3 separate regions of the Homo sapiens genome follow, and regions 1 and 2 are each linked to region 3. The links are contacts of gene promoters, found by promoter capture Hi-C in human tissues and cell types (Jung and others, 2019). All regions are on one chromosome and are shown on one strand. The core of a region is centred on a gene start or on the middle of the fragment in contact, and the rest is flanking DNA. Distances in the headings are between cores, read along the strand shown. Region 1 overlaps RAB11FIP1 (RAB11 family interacting protein 1). Region 2 has its middle 31 kb from the start of ADRB3. Region 3 holds the start of GOT1L1 (glutamic-oxaloacetic transaminase 1 like 1).

What was found. The method cuts DNA at HindIII sites, captures the fragments that hold promoters and counts their contacts. A contact is called where the count stands out against the background at its distance.
Region 1: a fragment that was not itself captured here is called in contact with the fragment with the promoter of GOT1L1 in region 3 in 11 of the 25 tissues and cell types used here (H1 embryonic stem cells, IMR-90 fibroblasts, adrenal gland and 8 more).
Region 2: a fragment that was not itself captured here is called in contact with the fragment with the promoter of GOT1L1 in region 3 in 1 of the 25 tissues and cell types used here (neural progenitor cells).

Annotation. Positions count from the first base shown.
Region 1 is chr8:37,879,493-37,883,526 of GRCh38, reverse strand. The region is part of intron 1 of RAB11FIP1 (RAB11 family interacting protein 1); the gene reads left to right. Among named protein-coding and RNA genes, the nearest start is that of RAB11FIP1, 18 kb to the left of the region's middle. RefSeq lists enhancers at 65-184, 1,593-1,702, 2,100-2,813, 2,814-3,528. The HindIII fragment of the contact is 7,013 bases long and covers 1-4,034 here.
Region 2 is chr8:37,995,758-37,999,895 of GRCh38, reverse strand. No RefSeq gene overlaps it. Among named protein-coding and RNA genes, the nearest start is that of ADRB3, 31 kb to the right of the region's middle. The HindIII fragment of the contact is 7,620 bases long and covers 1-4,138 here.
Region 3 is chr8:37,937,725-37,941,955 of GRCh38, reverse strand. It overlaps GOT1L1 (glutamic-oxaloacetic transaminase 1 like 1), which reads left to right and starts at 1,832. Exons shown (of 9, transcript NM_152413.3): 1 at 1,832-2,041; 2 at 3,075-3,256; 3 at 4,207-4,231. The coding sequence starts at 1,927. RefSeq lists an enhancer at 1,810-2,326. The HindIII fragment of the contact is 11,209 bases long and covers 1-4,231 here.

The DNA of each region.
Region 1 (4,034 bases), core at 794-3,293, 59 kb after region 3:
TTGCTTAAACTGTTTTTGAATTTGAGGATAATATTGCTAGTAAAAGAAACAATTCTTGGCTGGGCACAGTGGCTCACGCCTGTAATCCCAACACTTGGGGAGGCTGAGGCAGGCGGATCACCTGAGGTCAAGAGTTTGAGACCAGCCTGGCCAACATAAAATTAGTTGGGCATAGTTGCGCACGCCTGTAATCCCAGCTACTCAGCAAGCTGAGGCAGGAGAATCGGTTGAACCCAGGAGGAGGAGGTTGCAGTGAGCTGAGATCACGTCACTGCACTCCAGCCTGGGCGATAGAGTGAGACTCAGTCTCTAAAACAAACAGACAAACAAACAAACACCAAGAAAAAAAAACCAGAAAAAAAAAAAAACGAAACAATTCTTGTTTTGCTTTCCAGCTTTAATACATGGAGCACAGATTTGTAAATTCTGCCTCTTTGCCTGGGCTGTTTCCCTGCTGGCCTGTGATTCAGCCTGTTTCATATCCTTCAATAGCCCCGTGGCTGGTGCCTGGCTACCTGGTGTTTGGCTTTAGGTTTGCTTGTGAAATTAAGCAGCAAGAACAGTTGGTGACGTTTATATTTGCACTTCCTAATGGTGTTGGAAGTTTCCAAAGCAAATCCCACTTTAGGACCCAGGGATTGGACCTGAGAATCAGGTAATAATTGGTCCCGAGGGAGGATTCTGGAATCGGTTGTAGTTTTGCTCAAAAACCATTAGGAAGTGCAAAGAAAACCTCACTGATACTTTCGGAAAGGCAAGGCTGGCCCTTGGAATTGTCAACTGGCTATGTTACAGGAAAGGGGTCCTGATCCAGACCCCAAAAGAGAGTGTTTGGTCTCCCGCAAGAAAGAATTCAGGGCAAGTCTGCAGTGCAAAGTAAAAGCAAGTTTATTAAGAAAGCAAAGTATTGAAGGTACAGCTACTCCATAGACAGAGTAGGACGTTCCCGAAAGTAAGAGGAGGAACACCTCCACTCTAGGCACTATGCTTATTCATACACAGGATAAAAAGATCATTGAGAGATGTGCCCTACTACAAGGGTTTGTGATAAAGGATTAATTTTCTTAATTACTATATTTTGTGAGAATCAATATTATTAGCTTCAAAGCAAAATTAGGATAGCCTTTGTTCTCCAGATTTGGGGATATTAGAACACTCCCAAGTCTGGGTCTGTTTGGTAAACATTATCCATCTGTTCCCTTACCCATAAACATCTAGAGGCTAGGAATACCTAACTTTCTGGGAATGCAGCGCAGCAAGTCCCAGCCTCATTTTCCTAGCCCTCACTCAAGATGGAGTTGCACTGGTTTGAATGCCTCTGACAGCTGCTTTGGAGGCCTGTCACATTTGTGCATCCCCGTGGAGGGCTAATAGAAGGGCCCGTGTGGAAGAGCTGTGGAGAAACCCCTGCCTGAAGCTCCTGCCCTGGGCGGGGAGGTGAAGCGTGCTGCCCGCCTGCGGTTGGTGAGGTCATCGAAACCTCCTCAGTTAGCGTTCAGCAACTTCTCCTTTTCAGGTGCCTGCAACTGGTATTTACAAAAGCTAAACACCCTTCATCACCAAGGCTACCATTTACCACATGACTGTCAGAAGAGAAAAATATAAATAATCCTCTCAAAATTGAAGTGACAAATATGCAGACAATTCCAGGCCAGGCCCTGGAAAATGTATTGGACAGACACTAGGCTGGCAAGGGTGACATTGTCTATAAAGACCTTGCATTTTCCACTTGAGCCCAGGAGTCCAGGGCTGCAGTGAGCTATGATCGCACCACTGCACTCCAGCCTGGGCAAGAGAGTGAGACCCTGTTGCAAAAAATAAAAAATAAAAAAAGACCTTGCGTCTTGCAACACCCACCACTCCCCGCCTGCCCAGCTCTGGATTGAGGTTATAAAAACCATAAAAGATTTGTCTCCTAAGGGTCCAAAATTATAGCTCATATAATTTTATCCTCTCCTTGCTGTATTTTGTGAATTCATTTTAAGTTCTTCTTGATGACTTTGTATACTGGCCTTTAAGTAATCTCAACGATTTATGACTGATGGCAAGCTATGTTAGTTTCCTTCCTTTCTTCTTTCATCTTTGGACATTTAAATGAGAAGCTTAAATGTTTCTCAAAAAGAATTTAAATTTGAACCCTCTTTTCTCTATGTTACAAAAGATGGCCCATCCAAGATAAATTAGGAGAGAATTTAAAGCAGGAGTCTTGGTGTAGGGGAAAGAATAGGAGAAAGAATAGGGGAAACTGATTTGGAATCCTAGCTGTACCCCATAGTGGTTGCAAGACCTTGTGCCAGTTCTCAGACCTCTGAGCTTCAATTTCTTCATCTATAAAATGGGTATAATATCTACTCCGTGTCGTTCTTGTGAGGCTGAAATGAAGATGTCTCTGTGCGTAGGCAGTGTCAGGTATGCCACAGGTGCTGTTTAGGTGTTAGGTTTCGACTTTCCCCTGTGCCTTTCCTCTAAGTGTAGAAGGAGCCGTAGCAGTGGGGGCAGGGATCTGCCCTGTGAGCGAGCCACCAGCCATGGCTGAAGGTGAAAGAGGAAGTTGTGCTCATTTGGGCAAAACCATCATTTCCTTTAAGTCCACTACCTTCCGCTCTTAAATAGGTCACCGAAAAGAACTTCAGAATGTGAGTTCTCAGTTTGTGAGGGTGACCTGGTGGACAGCTCACTATAGACCAGGTATTTGGAGTTATTTGTCCCATTGTATGGTCTTGCTACAAACTGGGCTCACATTTTTTTTTTTTTTTTTTGAAAGGGATAGGGTCTCACTCTGTTGCGCAGGCTGGAGTGCAGTGGTGCAATCATAGCTCTTACTACAGCCTTGAACTCCTGGGTTCAAGTGATCCTCCTGCCTCAACCTCCCAAGTAGTTGGGACTATTAAGTACGCACCACTGCACCCAGCTAATTAAAAAAAAATATTTTTAGCCACGCTTGGTGGCTTATGCCTGTAATCCCAGCACTTTGGGAGGCCAAGGTGGGTGGATCACTTGAGGTCAGGAGTTTGAGACCAGCCTGTCTAACCATACCCTGTCTCTACTAAAAATACAAAGAATAGCTGGGCATTGTGGCATATACCTGTAGTCCCAGCTACTCGGGAGGCTGAGGCAGGAGAATCACTTGAACCCGGGAGGCGGAGGTTGCAGTGAGCCGAGATCGCGCCATTGCACTCCAGCCTGGGGGACAGAGCGAGACTCTGTCTCAAAAAAACAAAAATTTTTTTTTTGGAGAATGGGATCTTGCCTTGTTGCCTATACTGGTCTCAAACTCCTGGATCCAACCAATCCTCCTCTCTCAGACTCCCAAAGCACTGGGATTACAGGTGTGAGCCACTGTACCCAACCTGGCTCACATTCTTACAGTTCACCAAAGGTATAGGGCTCCTAAATGGAAAATGAATGCCATGAGATCTCCTTTTTCTGAAGCTTGTCTCTCAGTGGAGTTGGACTGGTATAATGTCATTTTTCACATCTTGAAGTGGGTTGCAAATGACCAAGTGTAATTCTTGGATAGTGTTTGAAATGTGACTTTTTCTGATTATTAAGCTAGGGAAGAAGGCTTCCTTTCCAACTAACCATTTTTTTTATTGTGGTAAAATATATGTAACATTAAATTTACCATTTTAACCTGTTTTTTTGAGACAGAGTCTCACTCTGTCACCCAGGCTGGAGTGCAGTAGTGTGATCTTGGCTCACTACAACCTCCCTCTCCCGGGTTCAAGCGATTCTCCTGCCTCAGCCTCTAGAGTAGCTGAAATTACAGGCATGTGGCACAACACCCGGCTATTTTTTGTATTTTTAGTAGAGATGGGGTTTCACCATGTTGGTCAGGCTGGTCACAAACTCCTGACCTCAAGTGATCTGCCCGCCTTGGCCTCCCAAAGTGCTGGGATTACGGGCGTGAGCCACTGCGCCTGGCCCCATTTTAACCATTTTTAAGTGTGCAGTTCAATGTCATTAAGAATATTCACATTGTTGTGTGATCATCACCGCCATCCATCTCCGGAACTTTTTCATTTTCCACAACT
Region 2 (4,138 bases), core at 645-3,144, 58 kb before region 3:
CGAGGTCAGGAGTTTGAGACCAGCCTGACCAACATGGCGAAGCCTCATCTCTACTGTAAATACAAAAATTAGCCAGGCGTGATGGCGGGCACCTGTAATCCCAGCTACTCGGGAGGCTGAGGCAGAATCGCTTGAACCTGGGAGGCGGAGGTTGCAGGGAGCTGAGATCGTACCACTGCACTCCAGCCTGGGCAACATGGTGAGGCTCTGTCTCAACAAAACAAAAAACCAAAACCGAAAAAAAAACAAACCAAAACAAGAACCAGAAAGCAAATCCTGATCCTGAACAAATGTGTGTGTGTGTGTGTGTGTGCGCCTGTGTGTGTCTGTGCCTCTGTGTGTGTGTGTCTGTGTGTGTATGTGTCTGTGTGTACATGTGGATGCGTGTGTGTGGAGTATCACGATGCACTCTTCTTGCATTGGGGGCGAGTCCCCAATTGTGGACCGAAGTCCACAATTCCGTTGTGCACAGGGTGAGGATTCAAGGTCCACAATCTCTAAATGTTCCTCCCCACCCCAAATACTTCTTCCATTCACAGGTTGATGCCTAGAATTTTCCCATTTTAGCTTTTTTCTTTTTCTTTTTTTTGAAACAGAGTCTTGCCCTGTCACCCAAGCTGGAGTGCAGTGCCACGACCATGGCTCACTCTCACAGCAGCCTCGACCTCCCAGGCTTAAGCCATCCTCCCACCTCAGCCTCCAGAGTAAGCTGGGACCACAGGCATGTACCACCACACCCAGATAATTTTTTAAATTTTGTAGAGATGGGGGTCCCACTGTGTTCCCCAGACTGGCCTTGAACTCCTGGGCTCAAGTGATCCTCCTGCCTTGGCCTCTCAATTTGCTGGAATTACAGGTGTGAGCCACTAAGCCTGGCTGCTTTTTTTCTTTCTTTCTTTTTTTGAGACGGAGGCTCACTCTGTTGCCCAGGCTGGAGTACAGTGGCGCTATCTCAGCTTACTGCAACCTCTGCCTCCCCGGTTCAAGCAATTCTTCTGCCTCAGCCCCCTGAGTAGCTGGGACTATAGGCACTTGCCACCATGCCCGGCTAATTGTATTTTTAGTAGAGATGGGGTTTCACCATATTGGCCAGACTGGTCTTGAACTCCTGACCTCGTGATCCACCTGCCTCAGCCTCCCAAAGTGCTGGGATTATGGGTGTGAGCCACAGCGCCCAGCCCTGGCTGCTTTTTTCTTTTCACTAAAGTTTCTGCAAAACTGTAAACATGTCCTTGGAATCCGAGACTGTACAAGGAAGAAAGGAAACAAACGTTATGGAGCTCTTACCCAGTGCCTGCACTGCACAAGGTTGCACATGGATGGAATCACTGAATGTCCCCACGACCTTATAAGAAAAGTATTAGTATCTTCATTTCACACACGAGGGAGAGGAGGTTTGGGGTCGGCGGGGGTGGGGGGATAGCCTGCCCATACCCAAAGCCCATTTTTTTTTTGAGACAAGGTCTTGCTCTATGGCCCAGGCTGGGGTGCAGTGTTGTAATGATAGCTCCCTGCAGCCTCCACCTCCTGGGCTCAAGTGATCCTGCCACCTCAGACTCTGGAGTAGCCAACTACAGGTGTGCACCACCACACCCGCCTCATTGTTTGTTTGTTTGTTTATTTATTTATTTATTTATTTTACTTCTTGTAGAGACTGGGTCTCATTATGTTGCCCAGGCTCCAAATTTAAGTATTTGCATAATGTATTTAATCCAAAACCCATACACTTAACCACTCTACCAATGATTCCCGCACTTCAGAGTATATCACATCAGCTGAGGAGTTTGTGAAATAGGTGAAATCTTTAGCTGAGAGCAGGTTTTACTGGGAGAAGGGGAAAACCATCTTAAAGAAGAGAGAGGTGAGGACAGTGTGTTTGTCTGCTTGGGCCGCTATAACAAACAAAATAGCATAAACTCAGCGACTTAGGCAACAGACATGTATTTTTCACAGTTCTGGAGTCTAGAAGTCCAAGATCAAGGTGCTGGCTGATTTGGTTGCTGGCGAGGGCCCTCTGCTTGGTTTGTAGATTGCTGCCTTCTCACTGTGAACTCAGAGGGCAGAGAGAGAGAGATGGAAAGGAAGAGAAAGAAAGGGAGAGAGGGAGAAAGGGAGAGGGAAAAAGGGAGAGGGAAAGGAGGAGAGAGAGAGAAAGAGAAAGGGAAGCAGGCAAGGAGAGAGGAAGGGGAGAGGGAGAGAGAGAAGTGGTAGAGGGAGAGAGAGAGAGAAAGGGAAAAAGGGGGCGAGGGAAAGAGAGACAGAGGGAGAATGGGAGAGAGAGGGGGGAGAGAGAAAGGATGGGAGAAAAGAAGGAGAGAGAGGGAGGGTGAAAGGGAGAGAGAGAGGGAGAGGATGGGAGAAGAGAGGGAGAGAGAGGGAGAAAGGGAGAGAGAGAGAACTAGAGAAGAGAGAGAGAATTAGTGGGGGAAGGAGAGAGAGAGAGAAAGGGAGAAAGGGGGCGGGAGAGAGAGAGCGCGCGGGGGGGGGGGGCAAGAGAGAGAGAGAGAGAGCACAACCCAGCACGCCCTGCAAGAGTGCAAGAGCCTGTGGTGTCTTTTCTCATAAGAACACTAATCCCATCATGAGCGCTCCACCCTAATGATCTCATCTAAACCTCCTTACCTCCCAAAGGCCCTACCTCCCAATCCCATTACATTGGGGTTAGGGCTTCAACACGTGAATTTGGGGAAGACACGAACATTCAATCCATTACAGACAGGAACCTTGAGGACTGTTGCCTGGGGCGGGTCCACACTGCGCTTCGGAGTGGTGACACTGGCCGGCCTCCGGCCCTCGGGAAGGACTCCAGGGTAACTGCCTTCCTTTTCCCTTCTGCGGACTCCAACGGAACCCTGGACTCAGTCTTCTAGCCTCACTGGATCTCACAAAAAGCAACCCTCTCAGTATGGACATATTTGAAAACTCAAAGCCGATGGTGCAGTGTTAATTCCATGAGTTTTGTGGATAAAAAGTTCTGGGTTCAAAGTCCACTAACTTCCTATGCACCCTTTACAAATCACTCTGAAATTCCATTTTTTTTTCCACGAGTGAAATGGAGGAAGCACTACTTCCCCATGTAAAACCTAAGGCGTCATGTTGGGAACCGTGGTGGACTCACAGGGAATGCCCAGCGCCGTTGAGCAGCCGCCTCCTGGTTCCCAGGCTGGGCTTCTGCCAACAGGCCCTCAGTTTCCTTTATTGGAGACACAAAATGTGACATTTATTAAGTGTCCCAGCGCACTGGGGACCAGTTCTGCCCATGGACTCGCCTCTGTCCCTAACCTCTGGGTTGGCATGTACATGAGAAAACATGCGGGTCAACAAAAAAGAAAGACATGGGGGTGTGATGGGAAGGGGTAGCCGGAATGTCCTCGAAAGCCACCCCAGAGCGTGGGAAGTGCTGGGGGAGCCCCAGGGCGCTCCCATGGGGTGAACGCTGCGCCGCAGCTCCCTCTAGTGGCACTCTTGGTGAGACTGTAGGGTTTGATTTGTGAATATATATATATATATTTTTTAGACAGAATCTGGCTCTGTCGCCCAGGCTGGAGTGCAGTGGCGTGATCTCGGCTCACTGCAACCTCTGCCTCCAGGGTTCAAGCAATTCTCCCGCCTCAGCCTCCCTAGTAGCGGGATTACAGGCATATGCCACTATGCCAGGCTAATTTTTGTATTTTTAGTAGAGATGGGGTTTCACTATGTTGGCCAGGCTGGTCTTGAACTCCTCACCTCAGGTGATCTGCCTGTCTCAGCCTCATAAAGTGCTGGGGTTACAGGCGTGAGCCACTATACCGGACCTTTTTTTCTTTTAAATAGAACCAGTTCATTTCACAGTTGGTCCATCAGTCTGTCTTTTCATTCACTCTATAAATGTTTACACTATCACACACAGAGTCCAAATAAAATGAAACCAGAGCATTTTGTCATATTGGTGCAAATTTGAGGATGAAGGCTTTTGGCTCAATTTTATTTTATCTTAATTTGTTTGTTTTTTTAGAGACAGGGTGTTCTGTCGACCTGTCTGGATTTCAGTAGCACAATCATGGCTCACTGCAGCCTTGAACTCCTGGGCTCAAGCAATCCTCCCACCTCAGCCTCCTGAGTAGCTAAGACCACAGGTACACATCACCACACCCAACTA
Region 3 (4,231 bases), core at 583-3,082:
CTGCAATACCACCACGCCCAGCTAATTTTAAAATTTTTTGTGGAGTGGGTGGGGGGGGTCTCCCTATGTTGCTCAGGCTGGTCTTGAGCTCCTGGGCTCAAGTGATCCTCCCGCCTCAGTCTCCCAAAGCACTAGGATTGCAGGTGTGAGCCACCATGCCTGGCTGTGGCTGACCCTTTGTATGCCTAAATCAGGCAGTCATTGGCTACCCCTGTCAGTGGGGGTGAAACCTCCAGGTGGTTTCTAGGCTAGCTGACTCCTGCCAGCCAAGCACAATTCTCCAGAGAACACAGGCATATAAGCCTTGTCCACCAGCGAAGCAGCAGCTGGGGCCGGGCACATTGGTGGTGAAGGCCTTCTGGGTGAGACATCAACAGTGTTTGCAACAATCATTTAAAGAGTTATTTAACATCAGGCTGGGTGTGGTGGCTCATGCCTGTAATCCTAACACTTTGGGAGGCTGAGGTAGGCAGATCACTTGAGGTCAGGAGTTTGAGACCAGTCTGGCCAACGTGGTGAAACCCTGTCTCTACTAAAAATACAAAAAAAAGCCGGGCGCAGTGACTCACGCCTGTAATCCCAGCACTTTGGGAGGCCCAGGTGGGCAGATCACCTGAGGTCTGGAGTTTGAGACCAGCCTGATCAACATGGAGAAATCCCCCTCTCTACTAAAAATACAAAATTAGTTGGGTGTGGTGGCGCATGCCTGTAATCCCAGCTACTCGGGAGGCTGAGGCAGGAGAATCTCTTGAACCTGGGAAGCAGAGGTTGCAGTGAGCCGAGATCACACCACTGCACTCCAATGTGGGCAGCAAGAGCGAGACTCTGTCTCAAAAAAAAAAAAAAAAAAAAAGAGAGAGTCATTAAACATCAAAAGGAAAAGAAAGCAAGCAATATGCAGACTGACTCTATAGAGGCTGGCTCTTTTCTCCCCTTGGCCTCTGCTGTCTATACTTACTAGTTGGCTGTCATTGAAACTTAACAAATGGCCAGGTGTGGTGGCTCATGCCTGTAATCCCAGCAGTTTGGGAGGCCAAGGCAGGCAGATCACCTGAGGCAAGGAGTTCGAGACTATCGACAAAGTGAGACTCCATCTCAAAAAAAAAAAAAACCAAAAAAAGAAAGAAAAAGAAACTTAACAAACATATGTAGAAGTCTTGGCTCTAGATAACTGAGAGAAATAGGACTGGCTTAGTGAGTTGCCAATTATATTCTAATAATAGGATTCTTTATTAAAACAACTGTGGAAGAAAACAGTGTTTGCTTTTTATTCCTTTTGAAATCTGGGGCACTTTGCAAAATGGAAATCAATGCCTCGACTTGCATTGGTGTGTGATCTGGGGTTTTTGCTTCTGCAGGAGAAGCCCTATCTGGCTTATTGGCTGCCTGCCTTGCCCTATGTCTTTCTTTCTTTTTTTTTTTTTTAATTTGTATAAATGTGTGAAGTACAAGTGTAATTTTGTTAGATGCATACATCGCATAGTGGTGAAGTCAGGGCTTTTAGGGTATCCATAACCCCAACAATGTACATTGTATCTGTTAAGTAATCTCCCATTATCCTTGCCCTGTCATCTAAGGAGTGGGCTTGTTACTTTGGACTGAGCCACCTGGGGCTAGAGAAGAGAAGGCATTGAGTGAGGGAAACGGGCTTGGGAATTCCGGAGATTGTTATCCTGCCCTGCCCGCTGTCTGAGGGGATTCTCCTCAAGTACCCTGGAATGTTCCTGTGGCCCCTGTGGATCGCCACCACAAAGATCATGAGGTTCTGTTGCCCTGGCAACCCGTTGTCCAGCGCCTCTGCACTGGGGCTGCCAAGGTTCCAGGAAGAGGCAGGACTGCCCGGCCCAGCCTTGGAGGAAGACTTCTGGGCAGAAGCGGAACACAGGAGCAGAGACACATAGTCTTGGCTCCAGTTTCGTTTCAGTTATGCCCACCCTTTCAGTGTTCATGGATGTGCCCCTCGCCCACAAGCTAGAGGGCAGCTTGTTAAAGACCTACAAACAAGATGATTACCCGAACAAGATATTCTTAGCCTATAGAGGTAGATGCCTAGCAGTTCTGAAGTATAAGACTTAAGTGATGGTAACTGCCTCTAGGAGGACAGTGTTCCCTGCTGCAGGGGGAGGGGTGCAGCCCAAGCTTCTGTGGGTGGAGAGATCTTTTCTTGTTAACAGAATTACCCAGTGGGGAAAAGTGCAGATAAGGTCCCAGGTCATTCCATGCTCTCTGCCCTTCTCTGGGGGCTTCTAGGGATTTGGTGAGAGCTATGTCCTCTTCCACAACTCTATGCTTGGGGGCCTGCATGGCCATCCCACACTTCTTCAGATTCTTACCTCCTCTCTCTCTCTTTCTCTTTCTCTTCCTGTTCTTGAACCAAGAATGGTTCTCCAGATTGAGCTTTCTGCTATGCAACTGGGGCTCACCACTGTGAAAGTCAGGGTTACCTTTATTTAGCTTCATCTACCTATAACTCTCATTTTGCATATATATATATATATATATATATATATATATATATATATATTTTTTTTTTTTTTTTCTTGAGACAGGGCCTCACTCTGTTGCCCAGGCTGAAGTGCAGTGGCAAGATCTCAGCTCACTGCCACCTTTGCCTCCTGGGCTCAAACCATCCTCTTGCCTCAGCCTCCTGAGTAGCTGGGACTACAGGCGCTGGTCACCATGTCTGGCTGTTTTGTATTTTTTTGTAGAGACAGGGTTTCATCATGTTGCCCAGGCTGATCTTGAACTCCTGAACTCAAGTGATCCACCCACCTTAGCCTCCCGAAGTGCTGGGATTACAGGCCTGAGCCACCAATCCTGGGCTTGTATAATTTTTAACCTTTAAAATGGCATAGGTTTCAGTTGTCTTTTTTAAAAAGACAAAAATAATACACATTCACTAACAGCATATTCTTTTCATCAAGGAGAAAAGAAAAGGGAAAGTTGTATTTTCACAGGCACCTTCCCACAGCCCCATGGAGTCCAGGAGAGATTTGTTTGCAGGCTGTCTGCAGAGCTCAGCCCTGGGGGCCCAAACCAGGCATCTGGAGCTCCCTCTGTGGTTTTCCTCACAGTCTGCATGACAAATGAAGGCCATCCCTGGGTTTCTCTCGTGGTGCAGAAGACTCGACTACAGATTTCACAGGATCCCTCCCTGAATTATGAGTACTTGCCCACCATGGGCCTGAAATCATTCATCCAGGCCTCTCTAGCACTCCTCTTTGGAAAGCACAGCCAAGCCATTGTGGAGAACAGGGTGAGAAGGTGGGCCCTCCCCTGGCTCATTTAGACACAGAGAGTGGCGATCTGGGTCTGCACAACCTTAAACCCGAAGGGGACCTCGGAGGGCCCCCTGGTATTGATAAAAGAGATACCTGAGGCTCAGAGAGTCCACAAGTCCTTAGCCATCGAGTCAGGATCGGAATCTCAGTCCAGTGGTATTCCCACCTGCTCACACTGCTGATTTGAAAGCTCTTTCAAGACAGGAATGATCTGAATTGGAGGTGGTGTTAGTATTCCCATTACTGTTTTATTTTTTAACCTATTATATATATTTTTTGAGACAGAGTCTCACTCTGTCACCCAGGCTAGAGTGCAGTGGTGCCATCTCAGCTCACTGCAACCTCCACCTCCCAGGTTCAAGCAATTCTGGTGCTGCATCCTCCTGAGTAGCTGGAATCACAGGCATGTGCCATCACGCCCAGCTAATTTTTGTATTTTTTGTAGAGACAGGGTTTCACCATGTTGGCCAGGCTGGTCTCAAACTCCTGGCCTCAGGGGATTCCCTGCCTCGTCCTCCCAAAGTGCTGGGATTACAGGCATGAGCTACTGCGTCTCGCCTCCATTACTGTTTTAGAGTGTTATTTCTGTCTATTTCTTTTTATTTTTTAATGTTTATTTACTTATTATTTTTTTGAGACGGAGTCTCACTCTGTCACCCAGACTGGAGTGCAGTGGCCTGATCTCCGCTCACTGCAACTTCCGCCTTCCGGGTTCAAGTGATTCTCCTGCCTCAGCCTCTTGAGTAGCGGGGATTACACATGCCCAACACCACATCCGGCTAATTTTTGTATTTTTAGTAGATACGGGGTTTCAACATGTTGGCCATGACCTCGAGTGATCCACCCACCCCAGCCTCCCAAAGTGCTGGAATTACAGGTGTGAGCCACCACACCTGGCCTATTTGTGTCTATGTCTTGCTGGCAGGTAGGGGGTGTACACACTGTTGGTG